4 separate regions of the Homo sapiens genome follow, and all the other regions are linked to region 4. Evidence: promoter capture Hi-C in human tissues and cell types (Jung and others, 2019). All regions are on one chromosome and are shown on one strand. The core of a region is centred on a gene start or on the middle of the fragment in contact, and the rest is flanking DNA. Distances in the headings are between cores, read along the strand shown. Region 1 overlaps B9D1 (B9 domain containing 1). Region 2 overlaps EPN2 (epsin 2). Region 3 overlaps EPN2 (epsin 2). Region 4 holds the start of ALDH3A1 (aldehyde dehydrogenase 3 family member A1).

Region 1 (3,211 bases), core at 1-2,500, 410 kb before region 4:
GAAGGAGCCCGTGTAGGAAAACTCACGATGGAGGGAGAAGGGGAGAAGAAAGACCCTTGAGAGCACTGTATCTCCCACACACCTGAGGCATGTCCTCAGGTAGGGTAAGGAAGGCAGCTAATGTGGGGTGGTTGTGGGAACAGAAGGGAGCGCCTTAGCTAAGCTGGCAGGGAGGGTGCTGGAGGCCTGAAGAGACAAAGGCTGTTAAGTTTCCTCAGAGAATGCATGAGGGAGTTGTCTAGGGAAACACAGACCTGGGCCATGGATGGAACGCGAGCCGTTGTGGCTCTGGGGGCTCAGGCAGGTGCAGGGCAGGCGAAGGAACAGCTGGCTGTCACCAGGGTGGAGACCTTGCCAGGTGAGCATAAACGAAGGATGGAGGGCACTATGGGAAGTGCATGCAGATGACCAAGAGTTCTAAACTGGGCTGGGAGGAAAGCAAGGAAAGAGGGGCTGATGGTTGGCGAAAAGGGGCTGGGCCAGGAGCTTGGAGGGCCTGGTGGTTTGAAGAGCACAGGGAAGCGCCACATGAGGGAGGGCCTGGCCTGAGGGAGGGATGCCTCAATCCAGACTTTGGAGGCAGTGCCTTCACCAGTAACAAGAGATATGCCTGCCTGGCTGTGAGGGGTAGAGGTGAAGACAGACTGTTCCAAGTGAGGAGGTTGAGGAAGAGGCAAGGACACACCCCTGCTCTAGGCTCACCGCACATGGGGAGTGGGAGGAAAAAGATTCCACTTAAGAGGGCTGCAGGGTACTGAGTGGGCTTCAGTAAGGCCAGAAGGCAGAGGGAACTTCCTATTCCGAGAAGATGGAATCACAGGAATTTTGCTGACAACAGACGATGAGTTTCAGAACGCACAGTGAGTTGGGGGGAGGGCACGGGAGTGCTCGTGAGATAAAAGGCAGAAGAGGGTCGGCCCAGATGGTCTCAGGGCAAGTGCCATGACGACAGTCCAGGGCAACATGGGCGAGGCTGGGAGGTGGGGGTTTGCCAGGAGCCTGTGGTTTCTCTTGGATCCCGCTGAGGGCAGTATCTAGGCTGGGGCACCATGTCTGCCGAAAGCTCAGTGGCAGGGCAGAGAGGGCCTGGGGCTGCCTCGTGAGGTGCGAGGGGTTCTTGTGAAGGTGGGGAGGCCCAGGGTCAGGGCCTCCCAAAGTAATGCTGAAGGGGCTCTGCTTCCAGAAGGGCCTGGACAACCTCAGAGGTCAGGGTGTTGAGCCAGGGGGCTCACCTTCCTCTCCTGCCAAGGGGCTGCCAGAAAGCTGGACCCCAGCCAGCGGCCTCCCACCTCTGAGAGGTTTCCAGCCCCCATCCTTGGACTGTGGGTAGGGGGGCAGAGAGGGGAGTGGGCAGGCTGAGGGTCTGCCATCCCCCGGGGTACCTCACCATTCCAGCTCCCAATAACAGGGTTCTGTCCTTGCCAAGGGAGGCTGGTGGCCAGAAGCATGGCTGAACGGGTGATTCTACTTAACCCCAAGCCTCTAAGGAGGGTGCCATGCCCAGTTAGTTCAAGGAACAATGTGTTGCGGTATAGAAAAGGCCACACAGCTTTGAGTGGCAGAACCTGGTTATGTCAAAGCTCCCATCCCACATGCCATCCTGCTGCACGGTCTGGTCTCCTGGCAGCTTCCACGGCACAAGGGGTAGGGACAGGGAGAGCCCTGGAGGTGGGGCCAGGAAAGGCCCAAGAGCCCCCAGCTCCTGTGGGGGAGGGGCTAAACAGGAGAGAAGGCAGCCCCAGGCCTAGGCTCTCTGAAAATGAGACTTTATTATACAAAACTATTCTGTGTGCCCCCAGCTCTGGCCACCAGGCTGCCCCTCAGGCCGATGGGCAGCGGCTGACTTCGGGAAGGCAGCCCTTCATTATCAGAGACTGTGCAGCCTGTGGAGCCTTCACTGGGGGAAGCTCTGGGGTGGGCTGGGCCCCAACACACCCTGTGTATCAGAAGGCCCAGTGTCATAGCCCAGTTTCCTCATGTCCTTGGTCACCACGTTGAAGAGGAGGGTGACAAAGCCCTGAGAACGGACACGGGTCACTGGGGACAGAAGGGCAGCATCAGCCAGGCTGGGCTGGGGCAGAGAGAGACCCAGGTTGATCTGGGAATCTCAGCCTCAGCGTTCTCATCTGTAAAATGGGGACAACAGTGCCTGACCCAAGCCCCTCACTGGGAGGTAAAGGGGCTGCCGGGACAGGCAGACATGACAAACCCTCTGTGCTCCAACCAGGCCCTCATCTGGGAACATTTGTGGGCTAGCTCCTATGTGCCTGGCAGGTCCCCGGCATTCACCCCAACCCTGGGCCCACCCACTCCCAGGCTGTAACCTGTATGGGGGATGGGGGTAAGAGAGGGGAGGGAGCTTTACCTTCCCGGCCTTCACCCTGAGCCACCACCTTGGGGTCTGTGTACTCGGGCCGCCGCCCCATGAACCAGCTGGGAACACAGAAGAACACAGGTGAGCAGGGCCCCACCTGGGCATTCCTGGTCTTGGACGACACTGGATGTGGGCTCTCCTCGGTTCAGAAACCAGCACTCTTGTTCCAACCGCACCCCACCCCCACCAGGAGTCAGGCCCTAAGCAGAGCCTTCCCAGTGGCTGGGCTCCAGCGTGGGGTGTCCCTTGCCGAGGTCACACAGCCTAGCCAGGCCTCATGTGCTCTGCAGCCACGCTGCCTCCGCTGGCCGGTTAGGCTTTTCCATCTCTGGCTTCCATGGGTTTGGTTCACTGGGAATGAGAGCTCAGGAAGATTCTGGGGTGGGGGTGCTACCTGAACCCCCAGAAATCCCAGAAAAGTGACAGCAGCTGAGGTGGGGGAGGGGAGGGGACAGTGTGACCCTCCAGCCTCCCTGGAAGGGGGTCCCACCCCAGAGAGTCTGTGGGGTGGGCAGAAGGGCCAGAACGGCTCCTCAGCCTTACCTCCCACTAGTGTGGGGTCCAGGACATGTCACTTCCCATCTTGGCACCCACCGCAGGCCCTGCCAGGGGCGGCACACAGCCACCAGGCTGAGCATGCGCCCTCCCCAGCCCCAGACCCCAGTTGGGCCAGGCGGGAGGCCAGGAGGCCGGGGGTGTCAGGCCCCGCCGCCGACACACCCACGCGAGCCGGAAACAACCAGGAGCACTATTCCCGGCCGGGTGGGTCCAGCAGCCGCGGGCTTCGCCCCGCCGGGACTCGCGGCCGCGCCTCCTCTGTACCACAGCTCCCAAGGT
Region 2 (3,067 bases), core at 243-2,742, 500 kb before region 4:
CAATAAAGGGACGCAGTTGTTTTGTTTTGTTTTTTTTTTCCCCCCTGAAAGCAAGTCCTCCCTGTGTGCCTTTTTTTTTTTTTTTTTTTGAAGCGGAGTCTCGCTCTGTCACCCAGGCTGGAGTGCAGTGGCGCGATCTCAGCTCACTGCAGGCTCCGCCCCCGGGTTCACGCCATTCTCCTGTCTCAGCCTCCCAAGTAGCTGGGACTACAGGCGCCCGCCACCACGCCTGGCTGATTTCTTTTTGTATTTATGGTAGAGAGGGGGTTTCACCGTGTTAGCCAGGATGGTCTTGATCTCCTGACCTCGTGATCTGCCCACCTCAGCTTCCCAAAGTACTGGGATTACAGGCGTGAGCCACTGCGCCCAGCCCCCTGTGTGCCTTTTTGATACTCAGAGCTGTCCTGGGATATAATGACTATACTATGGATGACAAAATTTGGGAAACATCTGATTGGAGAAAGAATTTGTATGTCACTTTATGAGAAGCAGCTGGGAGATGTAGAAGTATGGGCATTTCAAGGACAGTTTCATGACTGAGGCCAGTGTCAACCTGAAAAATATGGAACACGTGATCTAGAGGCAAATAATGGTTATAAATGAAATGCCACCAAGAACTTAATCTAATTGAGAAGACAAAGTTACTATTTGTGAGACAGAAGCTAGCAGTTTGTTGAGCCATGATTTTGATTCTTTGTCAGGGGGTCAAGAATGGAGAAAAAATTTAGAAGTCAGGGAAGCTATCAGGAGAAGGTAGGATTTGAGCTGGACCTTGAAGAACAAGAAACAGTATCCCTAAGTGGAAGGCAGATGGGAAGGTATTTCGGATCTCAGGAACAGCAGGAGTTAAAGCTTGAGATGGGATGGGGTAGGTGCTTGAGTGTGTGCTGGCTCCTGCAGCTGGTGACGGGTGGATGCCTGCTGGGAGCAGTGAGCTCCCAGGTGGCCAGATGGCCACTGGCTCTGATGAGACAGCAGCCTTGGGGTTTGGTTTTCTGGGTAGTAGGGAGCAGGGTAGGTCTTGAGTGGGTGCCACCTCAAGTGTTTGAGAAGGGGGCCCTGCGGAGTAATCTCTGTGGGTGGGGGCCTGGCCCAGACTGGCTTCCTGAGACTGGCTAGATAGCAGTTCTAGAGATGGAGAATGAAGAGAAGCCAGAGTTGAGTTGTGTTTAGGGAGTAAAGGGGGCCTCAGTGCTGGCTGGGAAGTTTGGATTTGACTCCCTGGGAGCCTGCAAATCATGTGGCCTGGAAAGCTAGAAAAATGCCCATGATGGGGCCCTACCCCAGACCAATCAAGGGGGAGCCAGTAATTTTTAGAAGTGCCCCCAGTTAATTCTCATAGTCTGTGTGGGTTGAGAAGCTGAGCTGTGTGCTTGGAGGAGCCTCTGGGAGTGTCAGGGATTGGAAGGGGAAAATTGAAGCCAGAAGAAGCCTTTGAAGTAATGTGGTGCGGGGACTGGGTTCCTGAGCTATTGTAGAATGACTGTGGATTGGCTGGTGGAATCAGGGCTGGAGAGGAACTGGCAGAAATGATCACCCTGGCTGAAATACGCCTCTAAGCTACCTTGGTAAATAAAGAAGGACAGCTTAGTAGAAAGTTTAAACAAGGGATGGGCAGAAGAGACTGTGATCCACCTATTTGGCAAGCCTCCTTTCAACCTGCATTTTAGCCACAGAGCAGGCACAGCAGGTTCTTATCTGTTCTCTCAAGCTTGCTAGCCAAGTTCCTCCCCACACCCTAAATTGTAATGACTGCAGCAGATGGTACATGTAAAATTTTAAATTACATTTCTTTAATTTTATTAAAGATAGTTGTAATGTGGAGTTACTAATTTAGATAGATTCAGTTTATTAGTCAAAGTCTAGAAGTGGGATTTTACATGGTACAGTTAATGCATGTCACAGTGTCATTGTAATATATGGTATTTCAGTCAAAAAATGAGTTTATAGTCCACTTCATTTATTCTTTACTTAATGCTTATTGAGCACATATGTATTATGTGCTGTTGGCTGGGAACGCCTGAGTGAATAAAATTTAAGTTCCTCTTACATTTCAAAATAGTTTTTGGTCTGCAGATGGTGGCTCTTGCCTCAGTAACAAGTAATATTAGCTTTGGGAGATAGCTGGGGGAGGGAAGTTTAGAAAGTGGTGTCAGACACTAGAATGGAACCTGGGAACCAGAGAAGGCTTCGAGGAAATAGTATGTGAGTCGAGTCTTGAAGGAAAAGTGGGAGTTCTCAGGGACAGAGATGAGAGGATCCCTGGCCGAGGGAGCTGCATTATGCAGAGGCCTGAGCTGAGCAAGGAGGGCGCAGAGGAGGAAGAGCTGGACATGTGGCAGAGGCCCAGCTGCCTGCTGACCAGACTCTCCAGGCAGGACAGGCGAGCTTGGTGAGGTTTGACTCATGGGCTGTGGTTTTCACGTAGCCTTTTGGCGGTGAGTGGGCAGGACTGTGGGCCTTCCACCCCACCTCTAATCAGAGCATCTCTGTGCTGGTGAAAGTGGGGAGCTAAAAAGAGCCCACTTGAGAAGTGTTCCTCTGCTGTTGAAGAACAACCGAAGTTATCTGGAGCTGCAGTGAGCAAGCTGGCACCCTGAGGGTGGCTGGGAGGGAGAGGTTGGAGGTTTCTTCCAGAGGACCTGAAGAGCCCTCACTTTTTTCTGTTTGCAGTGAGATGGATGTTCCCTCCTCTACTCCAGGCCAGTTTCCCAAGGCCTCTGGGTAATGTCTATGTGATTAAACAGTCTCTTGGGAATAGAACTCCTTTCAGTTAAGCAGCTCTATTTTCCAGAAATCCCTGGATAATTTTATGACCATGTGGTAAAGGTAAGGGACCTTGCGTTAACTTGGGGTGAATGTCAGAGAGCTGCTGTGTGCTAGGCTCCGTGCTGGGCACCCAGGAAATAGTCCTTGCCCTTGACTCTGCCCAGTCTGGACTAGAAAAGTGGTCCTTAGGTGGATTGAGCTCACAGATGTGTTTTGTTTGTGCCTCTTTCTAAACATTGAAATTGGTTGCTCTGTCAGTTTCCTATGGCTGCTGTGACAAATTGCCACAAATGCAGTG
Region 3 (3,170 bases), core at 293-2,792, 450 kb before region 4:
ATTCGCTTGAACCTGAGAGGCAGAGGTTGCAGTGAGCCGAGATCACTCCAGCCTGGGTGACAAGAGCGAAACTCCATCTCAAAAAAAAAAAAAAAAAAAGACAGGGTCTTGCTCTGTTGCTCAGGCTGGAGTGCAGTGGTGTGATTGTGGCTCACTGCAGCCTCTACCTCCCTGGGCTCAAGTGATGCTCTCACCTTAACCTCCTGGGTTGCTGAGACTACAGGTGCATGCCACCATACCCAGCTTTTTTTTTTTTTTTTTTTTTTTTTACTTTCTGTATTTTGTAGAGGTGGGGTTTTGCCACGTTGCCCAGGCTGATCTGGAACTCCTGGGCTCAAGCTATCCTCTGGCCTCGGCCTCTCAAAGTGTTGAGATTACAGGCATGCAGGCACAAGCCACCACACTCAGCCAGGAATACCTAATTAAACCATTATTTAATTGGGCCCCAGATCTTAAGGAGCTCCTCTGATTGTCAGAATATGGGATTGTTCTCAGAATTGAAACAGTGCTATCAAGGCTGGGCGCGGTGGCTCATGCCTATAATCCCAGCACTTTGGGAGGCCGAGGCTGGTGGATCACTTGAGGTCAGGAGTTTGAGACCAGCCTGACCAACATGGTGAAACCCCTGTCTCTACCAAAAATACAAAAAATTAGTCGGGTGTGGTGGTGGATGCTTGTAATCCCAGCTACCCAGGAAGCTGAGGCAGGAGATTGCTTGAAGCTTGGGAGGCAGAGGTTGCAGTGAGCTGAGATCGCACCACTGTACTCCAGCCTGGGCAACAGAGCAAGACTCTGTCTTTAAAAAAAAAAAAAAGAAACAGTGCTATCAAAATTGCTGATTGGGAGGCCGGCTGCAGTGGCCCATGCCTGTAATCCTAGCACTTCGAGAGGCTGAAGCAGGTGAATTGCTTGAGCTTAGGAGTTTGAGACCAGCCTGGACAACACAACAAAACCCCATCGCTACAAAAAAAAAAAAAATTAACCAGGCATGGTGGTGTGCACCTGTAGTCCCAGCTACTTTGTGGGGCTGAGGTGGGAGGAATCGCCTGAGCTCAGGAAGTCCAGGCTGCAGTGAACCAAGATTGTGCCACTGCATTCTAGCCTGGGTGACAAAGCGAGACCCTTTCTCAAAAGAAAAAAAATATTGGGGATTGGGTTATTGATTAAATGATTGACATTGGCGTGTGCCATAGAAAATGGATCAATACAATATTTACCTGTTTTTTAAGGATCCTTTGTAGTATAGGTAAACAAACTATTGTTTATAAACTGTCAATAAGTGTAGAAGGTTTCTCGATGCTTTAAGGTTGAGTTTAGCAACAGTATGATACATAGTTGTTAGTTTTTGTTTAGTGATACAAGGCAGTTCCTCATTTTGACAGTTGCCTTTTCTTTTTTCCCTAAATCACTAGCTCTCAAGCTTTTAAATCTCCCAAAATGTCCCAAATCCTGGGCCACACCTTTGCCACACTTCTCAAATGAGAATCTCTGGGAGGGCCCCAGGTACTGCGGTGGCACTGACAGCATTGTACTGGGGGCTGCTGGTTCCCTGTCAGATGTTTTAAGTCAGATTGGCTAGCATAGTCACAGCTGCTGACGGTGTCTTTATTCATGGATGCTCAGTACAGCAGTTGCTAGTTTCAAATAGACAACTTCCAGGAGGCATTAAAAAAAAATTATATGACTAGAAACAGGAGGGAAGGCATGCAGATAGATTTGTCTTCCCATGGGAAGTAGGCCATATAAGTTAAATCTCTCTCTGTATCATATCCTTTTTTACTATCTTCAGAGTCTTTTTCACTACCTGAAATTCTCTTATTTGCTTTGTTTTGTCTCCCTGCACTAAAACAAGCTGTTAGAGCAGGAGCCCCGTTCATGCCCCGTGCTGTATCCCTAGTGTCTTTAGCACAACACCTGAACCAGGAAAGGTGCTCAGAACATACTTCATGCATGAGTGCTAAATAAGCCTCTCTTCTCCTCTCTCCTCACCTGAGGGCAGGAGTTCGAGACTAGCCTTGCCAACGCAGTGAAACCCCATCTCTATTAAAAATACACACACACACACACACACACACACGCGCGTGCGCGCAAAATAGCCAGGTGTAGTGGTGCATGCCTGTAGTCCCAGCTACCTGGGAGGCTGAGGCAGGAGAATCACTTTAACCCAGGAAGTGGAGGTTGCAGTGAGCCGAGATCGTGCCATTAGACTCCAGCCTGGGTGACAAGAGTGAAACTCCCTCTCAGAAAAAAAAGAAAAGAAAAGAAAAAATACATTTGAAGTCAATTCCAGAAATATAGGAATGCCTTATATATTTGTGTGGTTTCTCGATGCTTTAAGGTTGAGTTTAGCAACAGTATGATTCATAGTTGTTGTTTTTGTTTAGTGATACAAGGCAGTTCCTCATTTTGACAGTTGCCTTTTTTCCCTAAATCACTAGCTCTCAAGCTTTTAAATCTCCCAAAATGTCCCAAATCCTGGGCCACACCTCTCCCACACCTCTCAAATTAGAATCTCTGGGAGGGCCCCAGGTGCCGCGGTGGCACTGACAGCAGTGTGCTGGGGGCTGCTGGTTCCCTGTCAGGCTTTAATCAGTTGAAGGGCTCTTCCTCCCCTCTCCCCTCAACTCATGGCCCGTAGCAGTGTCTTTTTACAGAGTTACAGGCAGCTAGGCAACACTCCAACTTGGAGCAGCTTGGAAATTGATATTACACATCAAATTAGTCTCCTCCTGCTGACTGCTAATGGAAAGCTTAGTCCAGCTTAGTCCAGCTTGCAGTGGGATAACCAGAGCTCCTCCCGCAAGTCCACTCTGCGACCTGCTTCTCCAAGTACAGTGAGGGCATGAAGTCATTCATTCTATTTTTTTTTTTTTAAACTGGGACAGAGTCTCACCCCGTCACCCAGGCTGGAGTGCAGTGGCGTGATCTCGGCTCACTACAACCTCTGCCTCCCAGGTTCAAGCAATTCTCATGTCTCAGCCTCCCGAGTAGCTGGGACTACAGGTGCGTGCCACCACGCCCAGCTAATTTTTGTATTTTTAGTAGAGATGGGGTTTCATCATGTTGACCAGGCTGGTCTTGAACTCCTGACCTCAGGTGATCCACCCACCTCTGCCTCCCAAAGTGCTGGGATTACAGACGTGAGCCACTGCGCCTGGCTCCTGCTAGAT
Region 4 (3,447 bases), core at 32-2,531:
AGGGGCCACTGTTACCAGTTCCTTACTCCCCTTCCTGAGATACTCAGCCCACTTGCAGACCCGGCATAACTTTTAACATCAGCAGAAATAGGGTATTTCCATTTTTTTAAAAAACCCTATATATCATATGTAATATATAATTATATTGTATATAGATATATGGTCCTGCCTACATTCCAGCGAGTGGCTTCCAATCCTTCCTCTGCCTCCCCTCCCCATAGGCTGACCCCTAATCCCAGGCTTTCTGCACAGGGAGGAGGGACCTGCTGGCATTGAGGGTGCTCTAAGCCTGGCCCTTCCATGGTCCCTCCCTATGTTCTGATAGGAGGCTGGGAAAGCCCCCTCACTGGGACCTCCTCAGTCCCATGGGCCAGGCCCCTCCTGCTGACCACAACCCAGGAGAGAAGGTCCCGCTTCTCTCCCGAGCCTTGTACGGTCAAACCAAGGCAGGCAGCCCAGGTGGGAAGAGCCTGGTGAGCGTGGGACGGGATTGGCCTTGCACCCCAGCATCGCCACTTGGAACTGTGGTCTCTGGGCTGGACGGCCTTCCCAGGACTTCCCCGAGAGACAGGTTAACAAAGGTGCCACTTCACAGAGATGAGTGGACACCATCACGTCGCAGCTGCACCCAAATGGGAGCTGCTGCAGCATGCACTGGGGGCCTCCCCAGAGCCCGTCGCCTCACACCCCACATTCCTGCACCCCGCTCCTCTCACCTGTGCCAGTGTTGACTTTGCCCCCCAGTGACACCTCCTCCCCTCCTCATTGCCTTCCATCCTCACAAAAGCTCTGTAGTGATGCCCATGAAGAAGAAACGGTTATGAGTGCATTTTACAGATGAGGAAAGGGAGACTGAGAAACGTTTAATGCTGTATCTGATCTCACAGTTAGCAGGTGGCATGTCAGGGTTTGAACCCACATGCATCTCTGTCAGCAGCTCATGCCTTTAGCACTCGGCTCTGCTGCCTTCCTTCCAGTCATGGAGTCTGACGGCCCATCAGGGCCTCTCACTCCACGGCCACCTTGGTGTCCCTGCTCCGCGGATCCCTGGGACCTCTGCCTCCTGGTTTGGGGGATGGCAGAGCTGCCAGAGGTCCAGGAGGATGCTCCAGAGATGATGGTCCCAGAGGCAGGGACCCCCTGGAGAGATGATGTAGGACTCTTGACACTTAGGGCCCCGGCTCTGAGTGCAGACTCCACCTAGACAAGAGAAAAAATAAGGAATGCAGGGAAGAGGATTACCTTTGACACAGCCTCTCCCGGTAACTGGGGCTCCTGGAACGGCAAGAGCCAAGAGGGGACGTATTTAAGGACCCTGCTTCCCGTCCATTGAGCCCTTGGAGTTCCTGCCCAGGAAGTTTGCGTGACAAGAAAAAAAAATATTCAAATGTGGGGTGTGGCGTCCTCTGGACCTCTGCTCCCTACAGCCCAGGTTTTGGGGATTAGGTCCCGGGCTGTTTGCTTTTGTTCACTTCTGAAATGCGAGAATGTTTCTGAAGGCTTGGGCAGGGCACATCTCCAATCTTCAAAAGAGCCTATGTTTGCCCTGGGCGTGGGGGCTGCTGATTGATTCAGCCTGGCATGGAGCTCTTCCAGCTTTCCAGACTTGCCGCTGCCAGATGCGGTTCTCTGAGTTCTCTGGTTACATAAGATCGGCAGGGCTCAGCCACGAACCACAGTGAGAGCATGCAGCTCCCCCGAAACGCACCCCCAGCCACCGCTGCCCCGGGCCCTTCACATCCCCCAGTGTGCACAGGGCCCCATTGAGTCAGAGATCCTAACCCTGGGGAGCCACAGGCTGGGGACTTTTGATGGGGGTCTCCAATCCATAAATCTGCTCTCTCGTTGAATAGCTGAGAAGAGGGCCAAGGGTCTGTGTGGTCACCGAAAACCAGAGATGCTTGGGAAGGAAGGAGTCTGGAAAAGCCGTTCCCACGCTGTCTGATCAATGTTCGCTGGGCTCCTGCTCTGCACCACGCTGTGGGGAGGAGGCAGGTGTGGAACAGACTCTCGGCCCCTCTCACCAGGCGCTTCCCGCCACCCTCACCCGCCTGCAGGCAGACTGCTTACCAGCATGGGGTCCCTGCTTCCCATTTCATTCGAGGAAAACACAAGGTTCCGGTCCTGGCCTACGAGTCCTGAGGATGTGCTCTGGCCCTCCTGCTTCTCTCCACCTGGAGCCCCCTTCCCCTACATCCACCCACACGGCTACGCTCCAATGTGCTGTGGAAAATAGCACAATGCTGTCGTCTTCCTCCATTATTTTTTCTCTGGAGCGTTTATATCTTGTTTGCTACCTGTCCCTTAACTCCTGACAGCTAGAATTTGATTTGTTCACTGCTGTAACCTCCATACAGCATTTATAGTAGATGCTCAATAAATATTTATTGACTGACAAAATAAACAGGAAATTTCAAAATAATGTGAACACTGTAGTAACCAGGTAGGCAGAGGATGCTAGAGGGGCTGGGGTGAGAGTCCGTGGGAGGGAACATCATCTGAGCTGAGTGAGAAGCATTTGGGCAAGGAACAGCAAGGGGGCTGGAAGAGCAGAAGCAAAGGCACAGAGGCTGGGAACGTTATGTCACGAAAAAGTGCGATGTGTCCACTGTTGCCAGCAGGAGGTGTGGAGGTGAATGACTCTCCTGGGGCGGGGGCTCACGGAGGCCTGTGGGCCAGGCTGGCTGTGGGGGTGCAGGGCGCTGAGGAGATTATCAGACAGACAAATGTCTGCTATTTTTTGTTTTAGAGAACCCCCTGGACAGGGCACAGTGTGAGAAAGGTCTAGCCCAAAGGCTGCAGCTTCCAGCAATGCAGGCAAGAAATGACGAGACCCCCAAATAAGACTAACAGAATGGGAAACATTCCAGAAACAGCAGAAAGAAGCATCTGCAGGACCTCGCACCTGTGCAGGGGCTGGACTGGGTGGTAGGTGCAAAGTGGGGTGCCTCCTGAGAGGGGAGAAGACCGAGCCTGTGCCAGCCTCTCCCCTTTTCTGGTGGCAGCAGCTGATTATCTTTGCAGGCAACCCCTTCCTACTTGGTGAGATGATCAACCAGGTGCCTTCTCCAGGCCAGCCATGGGTTGGGGTGGGCTCCCCATGAGGCCTCCCTGACTCTCCTGGGAATTTGGATCTTGAGTAGAGGGCAGAATGCAAGGCCGAAGGCCATTCGGAGCTGACTTCTTGTGGCAGCGGCCCTCCCCTGGGAGAACCATGGAAGCAACTAGCAAAAGCCAGCAACACAGCATTGAGTACACGAAGTGACCAGAACAGTGCCTGGCGGGCCGAGGGCATCCTGGAAAGGTTAGGTGGTGTGGGTGTCATCAAAAGTGGCAGCAGTAGTGGTGGAAGCGTCAGAGCAAGGAGCCTAAAAGCAGTTCAAATCTACGAAGAACAAAATCCTTGTTTGCGTGTTTGGGTTTTGGTTATAGTTTCAGTAGTGGCAA

What was found. Contacts are between HindIII fragments. The study calls those that stand out against the background at their distance.
Region 1: a contact is called between a fragment that was not itself captured here and the fragment with the promoter of ALDH3A1 in region 4, in 5 of the 25 tissues and cell types used here (dorsolateral prefrontal cortex, lymphoblastoid cells, mesendoderm cells and 2 more).
Region 2: a fragment that was not itself captured here is called in contact with the fragment with the promoter of ALDH3A1 in region 4 in 1 of the 25 tissues and cell types used here (lymphoblastoid cells).
Region 3: a fragment that was not itself captured here is called in contact with the fragment with the promoter of ALDH3A1 in region 4 in 5 of the 25 tissues and cell types used here (aorta, dorsolateral prefrontal cortex, mesenchymal stem cells and 2 more).

What each region holds. Positions count from the first base shown.
Region 1 is chr17:19,341,425-19,344,635 of GRCh38, forward strand. B9D1 (B9 domain containing 1) reads right to left here. Exons shown (of 7, transcript NM_015681.6): 6 at 2,366-2,433; 7 at 1,751-2,037. The coding sequence ends at 1,895. MIR1180 (microRNA 1180) reads right to left here and starts at 3,150; the gene lies at 3,082-3,150. RefSeq lists an enhancer at 1-495. The HindIII fragment of the contact is 6,595 bases long and covers 1-3,211 here.
Region 2 is chr17:19,246,698-19,249,764 of GRCh38, forward strand. All of the region lies in intron 1 of EPN2 (epsin 2), which reads left to right. Among named protein-coding and RNA genes, the nearest start is that of EPN2, 11 kb to the left of the region's middle. The HindIII fragment of the contact is 3,795 bases long and covers 1-3,067 here.
Region 3 is chr17:19,293,291-19,296,460 of GRCh38, forward strand. All of the region lies in intron 4 of EPN2 (epsin 2), which reads left to right. Among named protein-coding and RNA genes, the nearest start is that of EPN2-AS1, 11 kb to the right of the region's middle. The HindIII fragment of the contact is 3,874 bases long and covers 1-3,170 here.
Region 4 is chr17:19,747,017-19,750,463 of GRCh38, forward strand. ALDH3A1 (aldehyde dehydrogenase 3 family member A1) reads right to left here and starts at 1,282. Exons shown (of 11, transcript NM_000691.5): 1 at 1,243-1,282. RefSeq lists an enhancer at 3,239-3,447. The HindIII fragment of the contact is 25,713 bases long and covers 1-3,447 here.